3 separate regions of the Homo sapiens genome follow, and all the other regions are linked to region 2. Evidence: promoter capture Hi-C in 16 types of primary human blood cells and fetal thymus (Javierre and others, 2016). All regions are on one chromosome and are shown on one strand. Each heading gives the region's core, a stretch centred on a gene start or on the middle of the fragment in contact. The rest is flanking DNA. Distances are from core to core; before and after follow the strand shown.

Region 1 (4,979 bases), core at 495-2,994, 410 kb after region 2:
CTGTAATCCCAGCACTTTGGGAGGCCCAGGGGGCTGGATCACCTGAAGTTGGGAGTTTGAGAACAGCCTGGCCAGCATGGTGAAACCCCATCTCTACTGAAAATACAAACATTAGCCAGGTGTGGCGGCAGGTGCCTTTAACCCCAGCTACTTGGGAAGCTGAGGCAGGAAAATCGCTTGAACCTGTGAGGCAGAGGTTGCAGTGAGCCAAGATCATGCCATTGCACTGTAGCCTGGGCAATAGAGCAAGACTCCGTCTCAAAATAAATAAATAAATAACATAAAAACAAGAAGAATATGAGACAGAGACCATACCATATGTGGCCATAAAGCCTAAAATACTTTTTTTTTTTGAGACGAAGTTTTGCTCTTGTTGCCCAGGCTGGAGTGCAATGGCGCAATCTAGGCTCACTGCAACCTCCACCTCCCGGGTTCAAGCGATTCTCCTGCCTCAGTGTCCCGAGTAGCTGGGATTACAGGCGTGCGCCACCACACCTGGCTAATTTTTGTATTTTTAGTAGAGATGGGGTTTCTCCATGTTGGTCAGGCTGGTCTCGAACTCCTGACCTCAGGTGATCTGACCGCTTTGGCTTCCCAAAGTGCTGAGATTACAGGTGTTGAGCCACCATGACCAGCCAAGTCTTAAATACTTTTATCTAGCCCTTTATAGAATAAATTTGTCAGTCCTTGACATACAGCATTATAAAATATCAAATTCATTATTAAATAAAGACCACTTGTGACTAATTGGTAGGGGAGAAGATAAATCTTCTACTCTAATCCTCTGGATTAAACCAAGATGTCAATTTAGTGAAATTTGTCAGTGGGGAGATGGTGAATGTTTGATAGTTTATAAGATGAATGTGCTTTGCCCCTGAGTTTCCAAAAACTAAGTATTTTGAAATTAATGTTTTAGCAAAAATTATATTGAAGTTGAATGTCAGGGATGCAAAGAAGAGAATAAGTGTTAACAGAAAAACACAGAGAAGATAAATAAATGGATTTTGTTTTGTTATTAATTTTTATATTGGAACATTCTAGACTTTAAGAAGCTTCATGAAGCTCATTTTAAGGAAATGGAGTCCATTGATCAATATATTGAGAGAAAAAAGAAACATTTTGAAGAACACAATTCCATGAATGAACTGAAGGTATGTAGATAAAATTATGTTCTTAATGGAACTAAACTGTTTGATTATAATTTTGAAACTATATAACACCGTGGTTACAACAACTGGCTGTCACTCTACCAGTAGATTTGTTTGAATTTAATATATCTTTATCTAAAACTTGCTTTCCCCTACCCTGAGAATTTTCAAAGTCCTCTAGATAAAACAGTGAATCCATGGCCAAGCGCAGTGGCTCATGCCTGTAATCCCCGCACTTTGGGAGGCCAAGGCAAGTGGATTACCTCAGGTCAGGAGTTCAAGGCCAGCCTGGGCAACATGGTGAAACCCTGTCTCTACAAAAAATACAGAAAATTAGTAGGGGGTGGCACATGGCTGTAATCCCATCTACTCAGGAGGCTGAGGCAGGAGAATCACTTGAACCAGGAGGCCAACATTGCAGTGAGCTGAGATCGCGCCACTGCACTCCAGCCTGGGTGACAGAGTGAGACTCCGTCTCAAAAAAAAAGAAAACAGTGAATCCTGACTATGAGAAACTATTTCCAAAATGGCAATGTCATTCTACTTTCCATATTCAGATGTTTTGCCTATTACTTTCATTGATGATGAACCAACTTATGGCTGAAGCCATCTTCTTTCCCTCGTCCCTTATGTAAAGGAAAATGGGTGATTAATAGTGGCAAACCTGAAGGGTTCCTGTGGTAACAGCTCCCTCGAGGGCTTTCAGTCCAGGTTCCACAGGACTCAAAGCCTCCTCAAGTAAGAGAAGGTGATAAAGTCAACTCTGAGGCTGAGTTAGCAAAGTAGTGAGTAACATTCTAGCAAGTTGATGTTATTGGTATCTGGTGTTAAGGCAGTGCCGAATGGAGGGCAGGAAACACATTTTTAAATATTTATGGATTTATGTATTTTTCTCATAAAGACAGGGTCTCCCTATGATTCCCAGGCTCTCCTTGAACGCCTAGGCTCAAGTGATCCTCCCACCTCAGCCTCCCAAAGTGCTGGGATTACAGGTGTGAGCCACCAGATTATATTTATTTCTATTCGCTGTATTTAATTCTTAACCCCATGTTTATTTTACATAACTTCCCTATTTCTCAAAAAGAATTTAAGGCCTATTCTCAAAATAATGTAAGTTTATGGTATTAAATATAAAATAGTATAGTCAATTTAAAAGCGGCAGAAAATTAGCACTGTTAGTAGGTACAGTATTTACTACCATCAGTCACTCAGCTGAGTTTAAGTTTTCTGGCAGCTAGGGCCAAGAGGAAAACTCACTGGGTGATAAATTGTAAATAATTTAAGTACTTAAGCTTCTTGGTGAGAAGCTTAATTGAAATAATAAACATTCATTTTAACGATGTAAAACCACTGTTACAACCATTTTTTTTCTTTTCTTTTCTTTTTTTTTTTTGAGACAGAGTTTCGCTCTTGTTGCCCAGACTGGAGGGCAATGGTACAGTCTCAGCTCACTGCAACCTCTGCCTCCCTGATTCAAGTGATTTTCCTGCCTTTAGCCTCCCCAGTAGCTGAGATTACAGGCGCCCACCACCACACCCAGCTAATTTTTTTATTTTTAGTAGAGACGGGTTTTCACCATGTTGGCCAGGCTGGTCTTGAACTCCTGACCTCAGGTGATCAACCCACCTCCCAAAGTGCTGGTATTACATGCATGAGCCATTGCTCCCATCCTCACTGTTACCACATTTGAAGGCACTGTTTGTCAAACTTTTTTTTTTTTTGAGACTCAGTCTCACTCTGTCACCCAGGCTGGAGTGCAATGGTGCGATCTTGCCTCACTGGAACCTCTGCTTCCCGGATGCAGCAGATTATTTTGCCTCAGCCTCCCAAGTAGTTGGGATTACAGGTGCCCACCACCACACCCAGCTAATATTTGTATTTGTAATTTTATTTATTTTTTTTAGATGGAGTCACATTGTGTTGCCCAGGCTGGAGTGCAGTGACACAATATTGGCTCATTGCAACCTCCACCTCCTGGATTCAAGTGATTCTCCCACCTCAGCCTCCCAAGTACCTGGGATTACAGGCAACCACCACCACACCCGGCTAATTTTTGTTTGTTTGTTTGTTTGTTTGTTTTGACACAGTTTCACTCTTCTTGCCCAGACTGGAGTGCAATGGCGTGATCTTGGCTCACCACAACTTCCACCTCCCAGGTTCAAGCAATTCTCCTGCCTCAGCCTCCTGAGTAGCTGGGATTATAGGTGCCTGCCACCACGCCTGGCTAATTTTTTGTATTTTTAGTAGAGACGGGGTTTCACTATGTTGGCCAGGCTAGTCTTGAACTCCTGACCTTGTGATCCACCTGCCTCAGCCTCCCAAAGTGCTGGGATCACAGGCATAAGCCACGGCGCCCAGCCCCTGCTAATTTTTATATTTTCAGTAAAGATGGGGTTTCACCATGTTGGCCAGGCTGGTCTCGATCTCCTGACTTCAGGTGATCCACCCACCTCAGCCTCCCAAAGTGCTGGGATTACAGGCGTGAGCCACCACTCCTGTCCTCACTGTTACCACATTTGAAGGCACTGTTTATCCATCTTTTTTTTTTTTTTTTTTTTGCGATGAGTCTCACTGTGTCACTCAGGCTGGAGTGCAGTGGTGCGATCTTGGCTCACTGCAACCTGCACCTCCCGGGTTCGACAGATCTTGCCAGCATGGCAAAACCCTGTCTCTACTAAAAATACAAAAATTACCTGGCCATGGTGGTGGGTGCCTGTACTCCCAGCTACTCAGGAAGCTGAGACAGGAGAATCGCTTGAACCCAGGAGGTGGAGGTTGCAGTGCATGGAGGTCACACCACTGCACTCCAGCCTGGGCAACAGACCAAGACTCCATCTCAAAAAACAAAAAAAATAGGCCAGGGCGTGGTGGCTCACACCTGTAATCCCAGTACTTTGGGAAGCTGAGGCAGGCGGATCACCTGAGGTCAGGGGTTTGAGACCAGCCTGACCAACATGGAGAAACCCCATCTTTACTAAAAATACAAAATTATCTTGGCATGGTGGCGCATGTCTGTAATCCCAGCTACTCGGGAGGCTGAGGCAGGAGAATTGCTTGAACCCGGGAGGCAGAGGTTGCGGTGAGCCGAGACCATGCCATTGCACTCCAGCCTGGGCAACAAGAGTGAAACTCCATCTCAAAAAAAAAATAATAATAATTTAAGTTAATTTAAAAAAATGTTTCAGCCAGACACAGTGGCTCACACCTGTCAATCCACAACTTTGGGAGGGTTAGGCCGAAGGATCACTTGAGCCCCAGTGTTGAAGACCAACCTGGGCAATACAGTGAGACTCCATCTCTAAAGAAAAAAAAAGAGTCAAGCTGCTGCTTTCTATATTTTGTAATATGGATGACATAATTTTCTAAGTAAAAGTTAAGGACAGAGCAAGAACGACTGTCTCAACCATAAACGTTGAGTATTGCTCTAGAAAATGTGTTGAATAAACGAATAGTTTATCTTACTTTTTAGTATAACTCCAGCCTGGTAGACCCATCTGAATGAGTTTAGTTCTAAAATAACACTGTTCACCCTGAATGTTTAAGGAACTGGCCTATCAGATATATAACTTGGTATGATCTCTTTGGAGACTAGAGAATTAAAAAAAAAAATTACAATAACTTCACCATACCTGAGATGAAGTTGCTCCTGGCACATTTGGGGCTTGGTCATTTAGATGGTGATGGACAGTAATAAGCAGATATCCTAAAGAGATCATTCTGGCCATGACAGCCTCTCTTTGACTTTTATGATAACAAAAGACAGACTTGTTTGATCTAGTTGTCAAATGGCCCTCTAAAAAGATCAGAAAACTATCTGGGTGTGGTGGCTCA
Region 2 (4,563 bases), core at 1,581-4,080:
AACACACTAGTATTTGCTGCCTCCCTATCTTTATTGTTACTGTTTTTAAGTTTTAATCATAGTTCATGTGAAAATTTATATTTTGCATTTTTGCCTTAATATGCAATCATACACATGTTTACTACGTTTTTTTTGTTTGTTTTGTTTGTTTGTTTCCCGAGACAAACTCGTGCTCTGTTGCCCAGGCTGGACTGCAGTGGTGGGATCTTGGCTCACTGCAACCTCTGCCTCCTGGGTTGAAGTAATTCTCCTGCCTCAGCCTCCCGAGTAACTGGGATTTCAGGCACCTGCCACCATGCCCGGCTAATTTTTTTTGTATTTTTAGAAGAGACGGGGTTTCACCATGTTGCCCAGGCTGGTCTCGAACTCCTGAGCTCAGGCAGTCTGCCCACCTTGGCCTCCCATAGTGCTAAGACTACTGGCGTGAGCCACTGCACCCGGCCCAACATACATATTGTTTCTAATGTCTGCACAAATTTAATGGACTATATCATATTTATGTAACTAATTATCTATTGCTGGGTATTTAGGTTGTTTTCTTTGTGTTTGTGTGTGTGTGTATGTGCACATTTTTCTGTCATGTGAATGGTAAATTGACATAATTTCCTTAAACATTTAGCTAATTTTGGATATTTAAGTAGTTTTTCTTCTTTTGTTTTTGCTATAATATGTAAAGGTCGGGCGTGGTGGCTCACGCCTGTAATCTCAGCACTTTGGGAGGCCAAGGTGGGCGGATCACAAAATCAGGAGTTTGAGATCAGCCTGGCCAATATGGCGAAACCTCGTGTCTACTAAAAATACAAAAATTATCCAGGCGTGGTGGCAGGTGCCTGTAGTCCCAGCTACTCGGGAGGCTCAGGCAGGAGAATCGCTTGAACCTGGGAGGCGGAGGTTGCAGTGAGCCGAGATTGTGCCACTGCACTCCAGCCTGGGCAACAGAGAGAGACTCCACCTCAAAAAAAAAAAAAAAAAAAAAAAAAAAAAAAAAAAGTAACAATGCATTGAAAATCTTCAGGCATATGGCTTTTCCCGTATTTTGAATAATTTCCTGAAGGAGTATTGGGTCAAAGGGCAGGGATATTTTGTGATTCTTGACTTGTATCACCAAGCTGCTTTCTCAAAGGGTTGTTTGTGCCAATTCAGATACTTCAGCAATATGTGGATACCAGTTTCCCACTTCCCGGACTACAACCCACAGCTGGTGAGTGGAAAAGAGGACATTCTTCTAAGAAGCTACCAACAAAGGAGGTGCTCATATGAACGAAAGGGGACAGGATAGAAGAGAAGAGGGAGACTGAATGTGGGAAATGGAGAGAAAGCGAAAAAGAAAGGAATAACCAGAAAGGACCATTTGCTGGTAATTTTTTTTTTTTCCTGATTGGAAAAGTAATTCATGCTCCCTGTAAAAATCCAGACTTTTTCATTACTGTTTAAGTTTGATACTGAAAGTCCTCCTCTGGTGCCAGCCTCTGCTAACTGTTTAGGTATATTCTTCCAGATTATTTATTACACGAATACTTTTTGTTTTTAAAGAAATAGCTTTGTACTATACACACTGTTGTGCAAGTTTCCCACTTATATCTGCGACACCTTCGGAATGAATATGTGAAGTGTGAAGATCACGTTTAGTTTAAATATTGAATTAGAATCGAATGAGAAGCCATGTTGCACATTGCCCCTGCCAGCCATCTCCTGGCCAGTTTAGAGAGAAGGCCTTCAGCTGCCTCTGTTTCCCTTTTACAGTCAGTGACATCCCCTGAGGGCAGTCCCTTGCTGCGTATTGGGTCAACCCCCGGCGGCCTGTGGACTCGGCTGGGAGGCCAGAAGCCGAGGGAGAAGACCAGTAGCTGGCCATAGTCTTGTGGGGGCCTCACTGGGCCCTCCTTGCCCGCTGCTCCCGGAACCTTGTGCCTATGGATTAATCATTGCTGCAAAATCTCACGTCCAGGAAGAATTAAACCCATCGCCTTGGGGGCAAGACTAGCCTGGCTTTTGCATCTTTATAGCCTTTCTCCGCAGGTGCAGCCACCACCTCCAAAGTGACTGCCGGTCGGTCCAAGCGCTCTAACAGGCTCTTCCCCGAGCCTACCTGGGCTCGAGGGGTCCCACACCTGGTCCGGGGCGTAGCCCATGTGAGGCCTGCAAGCTCCGGGCGCCTGGCCTACCTAACTCAGCCCCGCAGTCTCTGCAGAACCCCCTGCAGCCCCGTGGCCCAGTTTCTCCATTTGCTCACAATGGCCAACGGCGTGAGGCACTTGAGCGGAATGCGGACGGTGCCTCCGACAGCTTTCCCGCAGTGCATGATCTCAGGAGGGGCCCCAGAGACGGAAGTTTACGACGCCCAGAGCGCTCCTTCTGGACGTGCCCTGGACTCGACTTGGGACTGAGTCTGTGCCGCCTAGGCTGGCAGGGACTCGGCCAGATGCACTAGCGGCAAGGCTGGGCTGACACCGCCTGGGACTCGCTCGCCGTACCTCCAAGGGGCCCAGGTCATGAGGGGGCGGCTGGGGAGACGCCCGCCCGGTGCCCGCCCTGGGCCCGGCGGGTGCCCCCTGCCCGCCGCCTGACGCAATCCGAGGCGCCCTTGCTGCATGCCGGCGCTGGAGAAACCTCCCCTGCCGTTGCATCACTCCTGCCAGGTTTGCCACAGAGGTGGAGCTGAACCAATCAGCGGGCGCGCTGGGCCCGCGGCGCGGTTAAGTGAGAAGCAGAATCCGAAGTTGATTGGCCAAAAGGGGATTTGCCCCACCCCAATCACCGCGGCAGCTGGCCGCGGTGGGCGTGGTCTCCCGGCAAGAAGGTTTAAAGGGCGCCTCCATGGGGGGCGCTCAGCTGGAGCTACCGAGCGGTGCCAGGCCAGGTGTGTGCGTCCGTCGGTCTTTCCGTGCCCACGCCGGAGACCAGCCCCGGAGGCCGCCTGGGCCTATCCCTGTGCCAGGCACCATGAAGCAGGAGTCTGCAGCCCCGAACACCCCGCCCACCTCGCAGTCCCCTACGCCGTCCGCTCAGTTCCCCCGAAACGACGGCGACCCTCAAGCGCTGTGGATTTTCGGGTACGGCTCCCTGGTGTGGAGGCCCGACTTCGCCTACAGCGACAGCCGTGTGGGCTTCGTGCGCGGCTACAGCCGCCGTTTCTGGCAGGGAGACACCTTCCATCGGGGCAGCGACAAGATGGTGAGCATCCAACCGTGCCCAGGGGAGTGAGGGGGTTGGGGGCGGGATACTGGGCGCCAGTGCCCTGGAATGTCCGGGGCTCTCTGGGCCAATAGAAAGAAATGTGTAAACCTGTGTCTGGGGTTTGTGGCTCATTTAAATGTATGTGCCCAGTGCATCACTGTGATGGCTGGAGTCTGTGAACCTGTGGATCCCTGTGTTGATCACCAACTGGGACCACTGACATGTCAGTGTTTCTGGACGTTTCTCCTACATCCGTGCATCGCTCCCCCACCTTCCCCTGCATGAATGGGACTCAGCATGCAGAGTGGGGCACTTGGAGGCCCGGGTCAGCGGGATTGATAAAGGTTTCCTTGCTGATGGCAGAGCTGATTTCTAACTTGTCTATTTCAAAATATTTCTTCCCTCCCTAGCCTGGCCGTGTGGTGACGCTCCTTGAAGATCATGAGGTAAGTGCCCGAATCATGAAGGGGAACCCTGGCCCAGTGTGAAGGGGGACCAGCAGAGAGAGCTCATAGGCTCTTGGCTGCAGGCTAGCTCTGTCTGATGCTTCTCTGGCAGAGTAGAAACGTGTTCTAGCTCAGTGCTTCTCACCAAATCACATGAGGATCTTGTTAGAATGCAGATTTTAGTTCAGTAGCATGAGAATGGGTCCTGAGACACAGCATTCCTAACTAGCTTACAGGTGATGCCACCACATCCTGGACCACACTTTGAGGAGGAATCCTGTCTTCCCTGGTACTAGACCACTTTGTCAACTGTTTTTTTTTTTTGTTGTTGTTGTTGTTGTTTTGTTTGTTTGTTTTTGAGACAGAGTCTTGCTCTGTTGCCCAGGCTGGAGTGCAGTGATGCAATCTTGGCTCACTGCAACATCTGCCTTCCAGATTCAAGCGATTCTCCCACCTCAGCCTCCCGAGTAGCTGGGATTACAGGCATGCGCTACCACACTCAGCTAATTTTTGTATTTTTAGTAGAGACGGAGTTTCACCATATTGGCCAGGCTGGTCTGGAACTCCTGATCTCAAGTGATCTGCCCACCCTCAGCCTCCCAAAATGCTGGGATTACAGGCATGAGCTACTGCACCTGGCCTCAACTATGCCTTTTTTTTTTTTTTTAAGACGGAGTCTTACCCTTGTCACCCAGGCTGAAGTCACTGCAACCTCCACCTCCTGGGTTCAAACGATTCTACTGCCTCACCCTCCCGAGTAGCTGGGTTACAGGCGTACGCCACCATGCCTGGCTAATTTTTGTATTTTTAGTAGAGATGGGGTTTCACCATTTTGGCCAGGCCGGTCTCGAACACCTGACCTGAAGTGATCCACCTGCCTTGGCCTCTCAAAGTGTTGGGATTACAAGCATGAGCCACCACGCCTGGCCTTTCAACTGTT
Region 3 (4,790 bases), core at 1,423-3,922, 300 kb after region 2:
GAAAAATTATTTTCCATAAAACTGGTCCCTGGTCCCAAAAAGGCTGGGGATCGCTGCCAGCTGCCTTTTTTTTTTTTTTTTTAATTAGAGACAGGGTTTCCCTATGTTGCCCAGGCTGGTCTCGGACTCCTGGGTTGGGATTACAGGCACATGCCACTATGCCTGGCTTATTTTGTATTTTTAATAGAGACAGGGTTTCTCCATATTGGTCAGGCTGGTCTCAAACTCCTGACCTCAGGCGATCTGCCCACCTTGGCCTCCCAAAGTGCTGGGATTATAGGCGTCAACCACCACGCCTGGCCATCTTATCCATTTAATTTAAAAATACTGATTAAGTGCTTTAGCTAATGGAAATTTTTGTCATTTCAGTGTTAATAAATATGTTGTACCATATGCTTAACCTCTCATACTACTTAAAATGGAAAGCTGTATTTTCTTTTCTTTTTTTTTTTTGAGACAGAGTCTCGCTCTGTTGCCCAGGCTGGAGTGGTACAATCTTGGCTGACTGCAACCTCCGCCTCCCGGGTTCAAGCAGTTCTCTGCCTCAGCCTCCCAAGTAGCTGGGATTACAGGCACCCGCCACCACGCCCGTCTGATTTTTGTATTTTTAGTAGAGACGGGGTTTTACCATCTTGGCCAGGCTCGTGTCTAACTCCTGACCTCATGATCCACCCACCTCGGCCTCCCAAAGTGCTGGAATTACAGGAGTGAGCCACCACGCCCGGCCTGGAAAGCTGTGTTTTCTAATTGAATGTGTGTTCCAGTGGGTATGTCCTATTAACAGATTTTAATCTCCTCATTATGTACAAGTCAACTAAAGCAACAACCTGTGGGTGCTTGAGATAGAAGTTACCTGTGAGGCTGAATCTCTCTGTAAGAGAAGGGACTTGCACAGTGAAGGTGAGCAGTATAGAGGGATGGCATGTCTGGTTACTAACAGTCTAAAAACCCTGGTTTTTCTAAGCATCCCTGTGCCCTTGAATGTTTGGAAAACCACTCCCCATTGGAAATTTCTTGGCCACAAAGAATGCCATCGTACATGGCTCTGTTCTCAGAATTGACTACTACCAGTGATACTGTCTTTTTCTAAAAAAATCTTCAAGGAAGGTTTTCCTAGGTATACCATGAGGCAGAACATAATGTTGGTATGCTTTTCAGTGAATCCACACAAATCTGTATTTCACATGGTTTTTTTTTTTTTTTTTTTTTTTTTTTTTTGAGATGGAGTCTCACTCTGTCACCAGGCTGGAGTGCAGTGGCGCAATCTTGGCTCACTGCAACCTCCACCTCCCAGGTTCAAGTGATTCTCCTTTCTCAGCCTCCAGAGTAGCTGGGACTACAGGCTCGCGCCACCATGCCCAGCTAATTTTTGTGTTTTTAGTAGAGACGGGGTTTCACCATGTTGGCCAGGATGGTCTTGATCTCTTGACCTCGTGATCCACCTGCCTCAGCCTCCCAAAGTGCTGGGATTACAGGCGTGAGCCACTGTGCCCGGCCTTCGGATGGATCTTATGCTTGTGGTGTTTAGGCCACTTTGGAGTATTTATTTTTTTCTATTAGGTTTATGTTGATGGGTAAATTTGAGAATCTAAGTTTTAGAGAAACTGCCCAGATCTACATTCTACTATAAAGCAACCAGTAATAATAACTTGTTCGTATATTATTTATTTAACAGTTGACAAAGTATTTATTTATTTATTTATTTATTTATTTATTTATTTATTTATTTATTTTGAGACGGAGTCTTGCTCTGTCACCAGGCTGGAGTGCAGTGGCGCAATCTTGGCTCACTGCAACCTCCACCTCCCAGGTTCATGCCATTCTCCTGCCTCAGTCTCCCGAGTAGCTGGGACTACAGGTGCCCGTCACCACGCCTAGCTAATTTTTTGTTTTTTTAGTAGAGACGGGGTTTCACCGTGTTAGCCAGGTTGGTCTTCATCTCTTGACCTCATGATCCTCCCGCCTCGGCCTCCCAAAGTGCTGGGATTACAGGTGTGAGCCACTGCGCCCGGCTGACAAATTATTTTTTATACTCTTTCTGTTTGTTTTGTTTTTTCTGTTTTGAAACAGGGTCTCACTCTGTCACCCAGGCTCGAGGGCAGTGATGTTACCATGGCTCCTTGCAGCCTTGACCTTCTAGGCTCAAACAATCCTCCCGCTTCAGCTTCCCAAGTAGCTGGGACTACAGGCACGTGCCACCATGCCTGGCTAATTTTTTTTTTTTTTTTAAACTTTTTAGAGATGTGGTCTTGCTCTGTTGCCCAGGCTGGTCTCGAACTCCTAGCCTGAAGCAGTTCTTCCACCTTGGCCTCCAAAAGTGCTGGGATTATAGGCTGAGCTGCCATACCCAGCCCTCTTTCTTTTTAACTTTAATACTTTTAGCAATACTGTCCTTGATCTGGGTGACTGGAACTACATTATATATACAATCTAAATTCTAAGAGTAGAGTTAGAAAGTATCAAAGGACAGGTCCATCGGAAGGCCAAGTGTACACCTCCTTATTGAGACTGAAGTTCAGGCTAGGTTGTGCATCACCACTTGATACTAGACTTGGTATTTAAACTGCCTTTTCTCAGCTAAAGTTTCTTAAGCTTGTTAGACATTAAACTGAAGTATGTAGCCATGCAATTCAAATCAGCCTTAGTCTTAATTTAAAAGTGAGTAGTTATTGTTTCTTGACCTCTGTCAGACAGGAGGAGCTACATTTTGATGATAGTGTAGACTTTGTATTACAGAACAAATTATGTAATAAAAGCTTAGTACATGTTTGTTGAATTAAATAATCAGGACCTCGGTAATTTTCTCTTTCATCATCTTAAGCAATCCAGTTATCTTATGAATGACTTCTTCTGGTTCATGCATTGATATAAAATTATTACACTAAATGGTCAAGAAGGACTAGAATCCAGGATGATTGTTCCAGAGCTTTGTGTTCAGTCCACTAGGTCAGTTTCTACCTGTGTCACCAAATGTGGTGGAGAAGAGCTTGCTGAGTTAATTAAGCACCACGTAAACGTTAAACCACAAGAGGAAAAGAGCGTGAAGTCTCCTGGGTACAGTAGGAGTATTTTATTATCTTCCGTCTTTGCTAGCATATATTACAAAGAGGGTGGAGGTATACATTTTATCTGTCTGTAAGTAAACTTCTTGAAGGCAGGAGTAAAATCTAGTTTATAATCTTTTTTTTAACTTTTTATCTGGAAATAATTTTAAACTTGAAGTTACAAGAACAATACAAGATAACTTTTATTCTGATACCCAGATTCACCAATTGTTAACATTTTGTCACATACTTCACTGTTTATTTCCTATAGAAAGGACATTCTCAGATCAAAATCAAGAAAGTTGCATTTTGAAACAGTACCATTATGTAATATTCCATATTTTATATGGTCCATGCTTCATTTTCACATATTATCCAATAATGTCCTTATAGCAGTTTTTTTCCTAGTCCGGGATCATGTGTTGGGTTTTGTTGTGTGTCTCTTTAGCCCCCCCTTGATCTGGAACAATCCTCTGCTTTTCTTTGTCCTCCATGACATTGATATTTTTGAAGACTGCAGCACAGATAAGTTGTAGACAGCTTTGTATTCTTGGCCCAGGAACCAACAAAAGAAAGTTTTTAAAAAATACTTATTGAAAAATTGGGGGACTGGGTGCGGTGGCTCACGCCTGTAATCCCAGGACTTTGGGAGGCTGAGGTGGGTGGATCACCTGAGGTCAGGAGTTCAAGACCAGCCTGGCCAATGTGGTAAAACCCCACCTCTACTAAAAATACAAAAATTGGCCGGGCATGGTAGCACCCGCTTGTAATGCTAGCTACTTGGGAGACTGAAGCAGTAGAATCGCTTGAACCCGGGAGGAGGAGGTTGCAGTGAACCCAGAGATCAAGCCACTACACTCCAGCCTGGGAGCGAAACTCCATCTCAAAAAAATAAAAATAAAGAATTTGGGGGAGAGTAACTTTCATTCAAAAGGTTCAATATTAGGGCTGGGCACCGTGGCTCACTCCTGTAATCCCACCCAGCACTTTGGGAGGCCGAGGCCGGCAGATCACCTGAGGTCAGGAGTTCAAGACCAGCCTGGCCAACATGGTGAAACTCCGTCTCTACTAAATGTACAAAAAACTAGCCAGGCGTGGTGGAGAGTGCCTGTAATCCCAGCTACTTGGGAGGCTGAGGCAGGAGAATCGCTTGAACCTGGGAAGTGGAGGTGGCAGTGAGCCAAGACCATGCCATTGCATTCCAGCCTGGGTGACTGAGCAAGACTCTGTCTCAAAAAAAAGTTCAATATAGGAAAGAAATATGGTTTTTAGAAAAAGAACACATACTTTGACTTACAGACTTAGATTTAAATCACAGTTCTGCTACTTAGGAGTAGTGTGGCTTTGGGCAAGTTACTTTATCTTCCTGACTCTCAATTTCCTCAGCTCTAAAAGGGTATACATAAAACATTGGCGTGAAGAAATGAGAATAATGTATGTAAACAGAGCAGCACATGATATATATGTGATGAATGGTAACTGACAATATTCGCTTTGGTATAACCTCGCCTAAGTCATGTGAGGATGACTGCTCTTGTCATGTTTGAGGGTTAAATACTTCTGTAGCCCTAGTCCACAGAACATGGAAATGGAGAAAAAGCCAGAGTCAGAACAAGGAAATCAATTGGTTGTCACATTATTTCCTTGCATGTAAATAGCACCTAAGAATTCCTTGCATTTTGTAAGTGCCTAAAAATCTTAACAAGGATATGGAGACCCCTCTAAGTGTTTGTCCCCATATTCAAG

Evidence for each region. The method cuts DNA at HindIII sites, captures the fragments that hold promoters and counts their contacts. A CHiCAGO score of 5 or more calls a contact.
Region 1: a contact is called between a fragment that was not itself captured here and the fragment with the promoter of CHAC1 in region 2, in 1 of 17 cell types (endothelial precursors). The highest score is 5.1, in endothelial precursors.
Region 3: a contact is called between a fragment that was not itself captured here and the fragment with the promoter of CHAC1 in region 2, in 3 of 17 cell types (endothelial precursors, M1 macrophages and megakaryocytes). The highest score is 6.4, in endothelial precursors.

What each region holds. Positions count from the first base shown.
Region 1 is chr15:41,357,108-41,362,086 of GRCh38, forward strand. NUSAP1 (nucleolar and spindle associated protein 1) reads left to right here. Exons shown (of 11, transcript NM_016359.5): 6 at 1,042-1,151. Among named protein-coding and RNA genes, the nearest start is that of NUSAP1, 27 kb to the left of the region's middle. The HindIII fragment of the contact is 1,388 bases long and covers 1,051-2,438 here.
Region 2 is chr15:40,950,641-40,955,203 of GRCh38, forward strand. It overlaps CHAC1 (ChaC glutathione specific gamma-glutamylcyclotransferase 1), which reads left to right and starts at 2,831. Exons shown (of 3, transcript NM_024111.6): 1 at 2,831-3,174; 2 at 3,588-3,623. The coding sequence starts at 2,944. RefSeq lists an enhancer at 2,040-2,633 and a silencer at 2,305-2,564. The HindIII fragment of the contact is 14,830 bases long and covers 1-4,563 here.
Region 3 is chr15:41,251,740-41,256,529 of GRCh38, forward strand. All of the region lies in intron 2 of CHP1 (calcineurin like EF-hand protein 1), which reads left to right. Among named protein-coding and RNA genes, the nearest start is that of CHP1, 23 kb to the left of the region's middle. The HindIII fragment of the contact is 164 bases long and covers 2,591-2,754 here.